2 separate regions of the Homo sapiens genome follow, and region 1 is linked to region 2. Evidence: promoter capture Hi-C in 16 types of primary human blood cells and fetal thymus (Javierre and others, 2016). All regions are on one chromosome and are shown on one strand. The core of a region is centred on a gene start or on the middle of the fragment in contact, and the rest is flanking DNA. Distances in the headings are between cores, read along the strand shown. Region 1 overlaps MACROH2A2 (macroH2A.2 histone). Region 2 holds the start of LRRC20 (leucine rich repeat containing 20).

The links. Contacts are between HindIII fragments. The CHiCAGO score rates a contact against its expected background, and 5 or more counts as called.
Region 1: a contact is called between a fragment that was not itself captured here and the fragment with the promoter of LRRC20 in region 2, in 1 of 17 cell types (activated CD4 T cells). The highest score is 5.6, in activated CD4 T cells.

Annotation. Positions count from the first base shown.
Region 1 is chr10:70,106,952-70,111,234 of GRCh38, reverse strand. It overlaps MACROH2A2 (macroH2A.2 histone), which reads right to left. Exons shown (of 9, transcript NM_018649.3): 8 at 2,028-2,202. Among named protein-coding and RNA genes, the nearest start is that of AIFM2, 24 kb to the left of the region's middle. RefSeq lists an enhancer at 3,670-3,749. The HindIII fragment of the contact is 1,732 bases long and covers 672-2,403 here.
Region 2 is chr10:70,380,485-70,384,686 of GRCh38, reverse strand. LRRC20 (leucine rich repeat containing 20) reads left to right here and starts at 2,062. Exons shown (of 5, transcript NM_001278212.2): 1 at 2,062-2,138. RefSeq lists enhancers at 1,558-1,657, 2,188-2,387, 2,232-2,851 and a silencer at 1,788-2,157. The HindIII fragment of the contact is 9,077 bases long and covers 1-3,818 here.

The DNA of each region.
Region 1 (4,283 bases), core at 288-2,787, 270 kb after region 2:
TGCAGTGGCGCGATCTCAGCTCACTGCAACCTCCACCTCCCGGGTTCAAGCGATTCTCCTGCCTCAGCATCCCAAGCAGCTGGGACTACAAGTGCGCACCATCATGCCTGGCTAATTTTTGTATTTTTAGTAGAGACGGGGTTTCACCATGTTGGCTAGGCTGGTCTTGAACTCCTGACCTCAGGTGATCCGCCTGCCTCGGCCTCCCAAAGTGCTGGGATTACAGGTGTGAGCCACCGTGCCCTGCCAAGCACAATGATTTTAGTCAAGGTCACAGGGCTGGCCAAGTGAAGAGTGCCCTGTATTTTATTTTTTATTATACTTTTTTTAAATTAGTTTTTTTTTCAGAGGCAAAGTCTTGCTCCATCACTCAGGCTAGAGTGCAGTGGTGTGATCATAGCTCACTGCAGCTTCAAACCTCTGGGCTCAAGCTATCTGTCTTCTGCCTCAGCCTCCTCAGTAGCTGGGACTAAAGGCGTGTGCCTATAAAAAAATTTTTTTTTTTAAATTTTTTGTAGAGATGGGTCTTGTTATGTTGCCCAGGCTGGTCTCGAACTCCTGGCCTCAAATGATCCTCCTGCCTCAGCCTCCTAAAGCTTTTGGATTTACAGGCGTGAGCCACCGTGCCAGCTCCCTATATTTGATTCTATGTCACCTGACCAAGTCAAGCTTGGCTTTAAAAATGCTAGCCATTCAGCATTAAAAATACCTGGTCTTCAAACAAGCAAACAGAAGTTTTATTAGCTCCCTCCAAACTGGTTTATATACTAACCCAATTGCTTAGTAAAGGGCAAAAATGTATGCTCCAAACCTGTCTTCGTAAGTCCTTTTTTATGCACTTAATATTTCATAGGCACAGGCCCATGTAATTTCAGCATTGTGACTCCGGGCATGGCGGGGTTAATGAAAGTTTGTTAAAGGCCCCAGGTTCCAGGGAGCTACTGATAGTGCCATCCACCAGGCTGGGCCACAGCACCAGCTTCCAGGGACACAGCCAGAATGGTCGTTAGGGGTCAGCCACAGAGACCCCTGGAGCAGGTCCAGGAGGGGCCTGTTAATAGGAATTCTTCCCAATCGCATGTATTCCAGCACAGAACAGCACTGCCGTGGTTCCACCGACGAAAGAATGCATCTCACAGCATCTCTGGGCCTGGAATGCTGAGACTCAATGCTGCTTGCCTAGGTTGATGTGTGATTACAGCAGGAACCTAGGTCTCATTATTTTCCTCTTGGGCTTCCCAGGACACAGCTATAAACCATAGCTATATTATAAAGGACAGCTCTCAAGGTGAGAGGGTGTTCAAAATTAAAGCAATAGATTGGCTAGGGGCATGAAGGGAAAGGATATGTTTTATGTGACAGCAGATATCCTCATTATGTATCTGAAACAATGCCCAGCTGGGATCTGTGACAATCCAGTCATTGCCCAGTCTCCTTTTCAGCAATCACTCGGGGACAGATTTTCACTTCTCTGGGTGTATTCATCAAAGCCTCGAACTCCTGGCTCTGCAGTCTCCCAGAGCAGCAACGGAATTCTCTGGGGATTCTGGAGCCAGAGGTCGGAGATGGGGGGCCTGAGATTCTGCATTCTGACATCGGTCACTGCTGCCTATGGACCACACTTTGAGTAGCAAGGCCTTCGAGCCTGGCGTTTTCTGATCATGTGTCCTGGACATGGACAGCTGGTGGGAATATGGACTTTGAACCTGGAAGGCTCTCAAAAAATAACACACCAGCTGGCCTCTGCCTCCCGCTCCTCCCCTGGGCTAGCCTTCCTCCTGGGGCTTTAACATCAAGGAGGCACTGGGGCTGGCCCCAGCCGGGGAAGACCTGCTGCCTAGGAGCCAGTGGGCTCGCTTCCCCATGGTTTCTGAAGGATGAAAACCGGGTTTCCTGCCCTGTCATCTGGTCAGCATACTTGGCTGTGCTGGCAGCCCTTGGCAACACCCAGATCAGATGTAAGTGGGGGAGCAGCTGATTTCCAGGGAAAAAGCCGGAGGAATCAACTCAGGGGAACTGCATCTTACCTGCCGCTGGGGAAAGGCGGGAACGCGACGGACTTTAGCTTCTTGTCCTCCGCCGCTGACAGGCAGTTTTTGATGGTCTCTTCAAGCTGTTCTTCACATTTGTCGGAGCCCCACTGAGGGATGTGACAGTGGATGACAAATTTGGCTGCGAGTCCACTGGATTGGCTGACGGCGGCTGGGACATAGGAGAGAAAATGCCGCGGGTTATTTCCTAAGGTTTCCTAGGTTATAGCCTAACCTCATCAGGTACCTGTTAGATCTGGAGATAAGGCAGTGATAGAGACGTTGGCTGGGCAGCATCCTGTGCTCCTGATGTGGACTATGTTTAACGAGAGCAAGAGCTGGGCTGTATTGCTTTGCACAGTTAGCACAAGCTTTGGGTAGAAGCGTTTAATGCTGCTCTGATGCGCCATTTTCATATGGTCTGCCAAGTAGTCCCTGGGTTGGGCTACCTCCTCACAATGGTTCCTAGTTAAAGGGACACATCAGATCCTCTCTGGTGGCTGTGGCAGGTAAAGTAATGGCATCCCAAAACATCCACGTCCTCCTCCCTGAAACCTGTGGGTGTTCCCGTACATGGCAAAAAGGACTTTGCAGATGTGATTAAGTGAAGGCTCTTGAGATGGGGAGATGATCCTGGACTGTCTGGGTGAGCCTGGGACCTGATAAGAGGGAGGCAAGAAGGTCAAAGGCAGGAGAAGGCCGTGGGATGAAGGAGACAGAGATTGGAACGATGCAGCCAGGAGCCAAGGAATGTTGCAGCTTAGAAGCTGGAAAAGGCAAGGAAGGGATCCTTCCCTGAGCCTCCAGAAGGAACCAGCCCTGCCAACACCTGGATCTTAGACTCTTAAAACTCATTGTGGACTTCTGGCCTCCAGAACTGTAAGAAGACAAATTTGTGTTGTCTGAAGCCACGAACTTTGTGGTAATTTGTTACAGTAGCCACAGGAAATGAATACAGTGGCTTTTATTTTTATTTTTTTATTTTTAGTTTTTTTTTGAGACAGAGTCTTTTTCTGTCGCCCAGGCTGGAGTGCAGTGGTGCGATCTCAGCTCGCTGCAACCTCCACCTCCTGGGTTCAAGTGATTCTAGTGCCTCAGCCTCTCGAGTAGCTGGGATTACAGGCATGTGCTAATTTTTAAAATTTTTTTATAGAGATGAGGTTTTGCTATGTTGCCCAGACTGGTCTTGAACTCCAGGGCTCAAGTGATCCTCTTGCCTCAGGCACCCAAAGTGCTGGGATTACAGGCGTGAGCCATCACACCTGGCCTACTGTGGCTTTTAAAAAATAGCTGTGCCTGGGCCCCACAGAGTCAGGGTACTGACCACCCAGAGGTCCTGACTCAGTAGGTCTGGTGCAGGGGCTTATGCTTATGTGATTTTAGGACCTTCTATGAGTTGAGAACCACTGAACTTGATTGTGTAGTTCCTTGACAGGGACTGCCATTTGATGATCTCCACATGCCCTGCAGAGAGTGGGGTTTCAAAAGCGGGCTGTGAAACTGAATTAGGCCAGCCTTGTCTCACAATTTCTGTCATACTCCTTTGTTTTACTGTTTACTCCCCTAAATGTGGTTCCCATTGGTGACAGAGTTGATAAAGCCCCGTGGCTGCTAAGCTCGAGGGAAGTCCCTGTGGGACTCCCCAGGGGAGCAGTTCCCTCGGATCTGCCTGAGGCAGCTGCAGCTTCAGCCATGAGCCATGCTTGCCCCCACGCTGCCCGTCTGCGCCCTGTGCCCCTCCAGGAACCCAGGAATCGGCGTAGCAAGGGTCCGTGGCCACTAGGGGCAGCACTTGTAACAGAAACGTGTGTCCGCCGTATTCCAGAGCTGTGTGTGGGGTTGAGGTGAAAGACTGACTGGAAATCTATGATGCCCACCTAGTTTATATAAGTATTTCCTGGCAATGTCCACAGTGTCAGGGAAGTGCTGACTGCACTTCCTCACATGGGTAGAAGCCAAATCCAAGGGACCCCTTCGTCCATCAGGGGAGGCTGTAGGCTCCCTGCCTTCCAGTGCCTAGACGGGGCTCAGTGTCATCACACGTGAACGCCTGAGTGCAGGACCCAGGCCACACAATACACCGAGGCCCTGGGTAGGGGCCCGCCATGCGTGCTGACTCTACGACCACGTATATTTGTGCACCAGAAGCAGAGTGTCCCTCTTTGGACTGAACAATGATGCCCCTAAAACTGGAGGCTGCTCTGCTGAGAACCAAGGACCCTGGAGATGGGCCTTGCCTGCATGGTGCCATCT
Region 2 (4,202 bases), core at 813-3,312:
GCAGGAAACACTGATGGATACAAGCACTGAACATGCGTCAAGCTCTGGTATTTGCAATCAGGCAGACTCTCGGGAGTAAAGACTTGTGCAGAGATGATAGAATAATGGGTATAATGCACTAAGTGCTCTGGAGAAGCAAAAACAGTAGGAATAGAAGAGGTGGATTTGAGCTAGGGAGGGATCTTGTCTCTGTGGAGTTAGAGGGTCCAGGATGAACTGCCTGGGACAGGGGACTGTCTGAGGGAAAGTATGAATGTTGGAAACCCCAGGCTGGGGCCATCAGCCAGCAGTATATACTGAGCCCTTACCATGGGTACAGAAACACTGTACTGGCTGTCTCAAGTCTGCGTATGGACTAGCAGAGGAGAGAAGACATCCACGTGTAAAAGTTGGGTAGAAGTGTCATGCTGGTTTTCAGTGAAAACAGAAGTAGCTATGCCTGCTTTGTCCACAGTGGCAAGCAGCATCTCGGCTTGGGCAGAATGGGACTCTACCCATTAGTTATTTATATCTGGTACTTGCTATATATCTGGCAGGGATGTGGTGTTGATGGGTTGAGAGAGATCTCCATAGTTTTCCCTGGGAAGGCACAAGGGGTCAGAAAACATGGCTGCTTAAGTATCCACTTGACTGGTAACCCCTTGAGGGCAGGGTCTGTGTCTGATTCATGTCAGTATACCCCAAGACACAAGGCTTTGCATATACTAAGCAATCAGTTTCAAAAGACTTACTTTGGAGATATTTATCATCCTCTTCTCTTTATTCCTACTAACCTATTGTAGTTTTTTCCTAGGGCTGCTATAACAAATGGACATAAACTGGGTGGCAACAGAAATTTATTCACTTACAGCTCTGGAAGCTATTAAGTCCAAAATCAAGGTGTCTGGAGGGTTAGTTCCTTTTTGGAGGCTCTGAAGGAGGAATTATTCCCTGCCCGTTCCTAGCTTCTGGTCCCTGCTGGCAGTGCTTGGCACTCCTGGCCTTGGAAATGCATCAGCTGATCCCTGCCGCCATCACCACAGGTGGTTCTCCCTGTGCGTCTCTTCTGTGTCTCTTCTCTTACAACGACACCAGTCTCAGTGGATTAGGGGCCCGCCCTACTCCAGCATGACCTTAACTCATTACATCTGCAACGGCCCTACTTCCAAATAAGATCACATTCTGATGAACTTTAACATATTGTTGGGGGTGGAGAGGGCATAAGTAACCCTTAACATCCATCGAGGCCCAAGGGAATGTGTGTTCTTTGACTGCCTAGACCCCCTAGAGGCGGAATTAAATATTCTTTTTTTTTTCTTTGAGACAGAGTCTCACTCTGTCCACTCAGGTTGGAGTGCCCATCTCGGCTCACTGCAACCTCCGCCTCCCGGGTTCAAGCGATTCTCCTGCCTCAGCATCCCGAGTAGCTGCGGCTACAGGCGCCTGCCACCACGCCCGGCTAATTTTTGTATTTTTAGTAGAGACGGGGGTTTTGCCATGTTGGCCAGGCTGGTCTCGAACTCCCGACCTCAGGTGATCCGTCTACCTCGGCCTCCCAAAGTGCTGGGATTACAGGCGTGAGTCGCCGCGCCCCGCCCTCAAGTCATATTTTATAGATGAGAACATTAGGATTGGAGACGCAGGGCCGAGACACAGGGCCTTGCATATACTAAAAACCTCAATGGGCACCCGAAGTCATCATAGGAAAATTTCCCTATGCTCCATGTTCACGTGTTTCAAAGTATCCCTGATCTGGCTAATTCAACTCCATTCCCTCGAGAAAACCCAATCTGGAGCCCCGGTCCTAGAGATCCTGGGATGTACTGCGCGTCCCACTCTGTATCTCCGCCCCCTCAGGCGTTCTCCCTCTAGAAGCAGCACACAAAGCGGTTACTCCCTGCGGCCGGGAGCGCGCGGGCTGCCCTTCCGCGCGCCACCCCCGCGCGCGCCGCTCCCCCACTGATTGGCTGAGCGCATCCCGAGCCCAGCCTGCTCCCGCCGCGGCGCCGGTCCTGGCGCCGGGATTGGCGGAGTGGCCGCGCGCGCAGATCCCGCAGCCCCGCGCGCCCCGCCCCGCCGGCTCGGAACTCGCCTGGGGCGCCGCCGGCGGCGGAGGGAGCGTGACTGCGCTGCGCAGGGCGCTAGGAGGCATTGTCGCCGTAAGTGGAGCCAAAAGCGGCCCGGAGCGGGACCACACGCTTCTTGCCCCGCAAAGTAAATGTAGTCCGAGGTCAAGCGTTGCAGGGGCTGGGGGAGAGAGGGCGAGAAGTGTTCCGATTTTTGCAGCGTCCCCTCCCCTCCCCCAGGTCACCCGGTGGAAAAGAGCAGCGGTGCACCAGCGGAGGCTCTGGCGGTGCCAAGGGGCTCGGCATGCGCGGGCTCTTGCTTGCTCACTGCACCTGGACCCCGATGGTTCAGGGGAGTGGGTGCAGAGGTGCCAGGGAATAGGGAGCTCGGAGAACCGCTCCCAGGCGGGCCTCCATTCCTCGCGGGAGGCGCCCTTGCTTGGAGAGGCTGCTGTGCATTTCGTCCCCGAAGCGACACTTTCGGGGTTTGCTTCCGCTCTGGGGAGCTGCAGACGCCTGCTCCAGAGCGTGCCTCTCGGCCTCCGGGCAGCGTGGGAGCCCCGGGGCCTCTGCGATCACTACCATTCTTCCCTCTGCCAGCTTTATTCTCCCAGTCCCCGCCTGCCGGGCCAGCGGACGAGGTGCCATTGGCTGCAGGCACCGGGGGTGAGGCGGATCCTGGCACGCGGGGCTGGGGGACCCTTGCCTGGCTACCGCGCGTAGTGCTGGAGGCTCAGTCCGAGGATGCCTAGATGTTAGCGAGGGAGCACGCGCTGAGCTTCCCGAACCCCATGCCACAAAAACAAGGCGCCAGCAGGTCCCGCTCACGTCCCAGCGGGCTTCTTTCCCTGGGGTGGGGAAGTGGGTCAACTTCGTTCTGATCTGAAGGGGGGTTTGGGACTATTTGGGTCGCTCCTCACCTCCCCACCCGCTCCCCGGCTTGGCATGGTCCAGAGCCCGGGCTGGAGCCAGCGGTAGGGCCAGCTTGCACACATGGCTCCGGAGGCTCCGGTTGCCCATCCGAGCCCCTGCCAGGCTCTAACGTTCCCAACTGACAACACCAGTAACTAAATATAGGAGCAGATGGTGGGGACGGGCTGTCGCAGCGGCTCCTTTGCAGAGGTCTCCGGACTGCAGATAAGGTAGAGTTATTGATGGTAAGGGCTGGAGTCAGGGGGCCAGGTCAGGGTTTAAGCAAAAATCACCCCTCCCCCAGCCAGCCTGAGTCCAGGTGAAACCAGGTTATAGGGACAGGAGGGCTGTATTGCCAGCTCCCCCAAAGCAGGACAACGTTTTTGTCTGGCATTGAATTTATTACATCCAAACTTCCTCTCTACACCTGTTTGATTACCTACTGGTAATGCCTTGGTGTGGGAAACATGTAATGGTTCGCAAAGTCCTTTCCCAAAAGTTACATATCAGTTACTTCCCACAATAATCCGGTGAGGAAGGTGGTATTTCCATTTTACAAATGGGACTGCTCACAACACTGTTAACTTTGCAAAACTATGGATTAGGCTGCCTTCCTCAAAAAACTTCTCTTAGTTCGCTACACAGAAGCAGAGGACAGCCTTGTAAGAGGGCTGCAGTTCCCTTCCTCAGTAATCTGGGAGCCCATTGGCTCCCTGTCTCTCTCTCTCCTGAATCTCTTTGTGCACCTGCTGCTCACCCCTGTCCCTTCCCCCTGGCCATGCCATGTGCCTTCATGCCCCCCTAGGCCTGGCCCTGTAGCCTTACTACTATCAGGCTCATCCTGCCTCCCAGTGGGAAGCTTGTTCTAGCCCATACCCAGTCTCTGCCCCTTTACTCCCACAGTGGGGGCCTTATGGAAGGTGTCCAGGAGACGTTTGCTGGATTTAAACATTTCACCGGACCAGGATGCTCACTCTGAGGAATGGGGTTGAGGGTGTGTGGAGAGGGCCATGCTTTGAGGATGTAGGCAGTGTGAGTATGAGCTTCGACCCTGTGCTGAAGTGTCTCTGGGATTTGGAGTGCTTTCCCTGACATTTTCTAAGGCCTACCCTCTATTGCCTGGGACTGGCTGGGGCCAGTAGTGCCAGCTGGCTGGGGTGCCCCAAGCGGCGATCTGGCCCATGTGGGCTGATGGTGTCTGTTTCTGCCTTTTGGAACACTCTGTGACTCTCCACTACCACCATC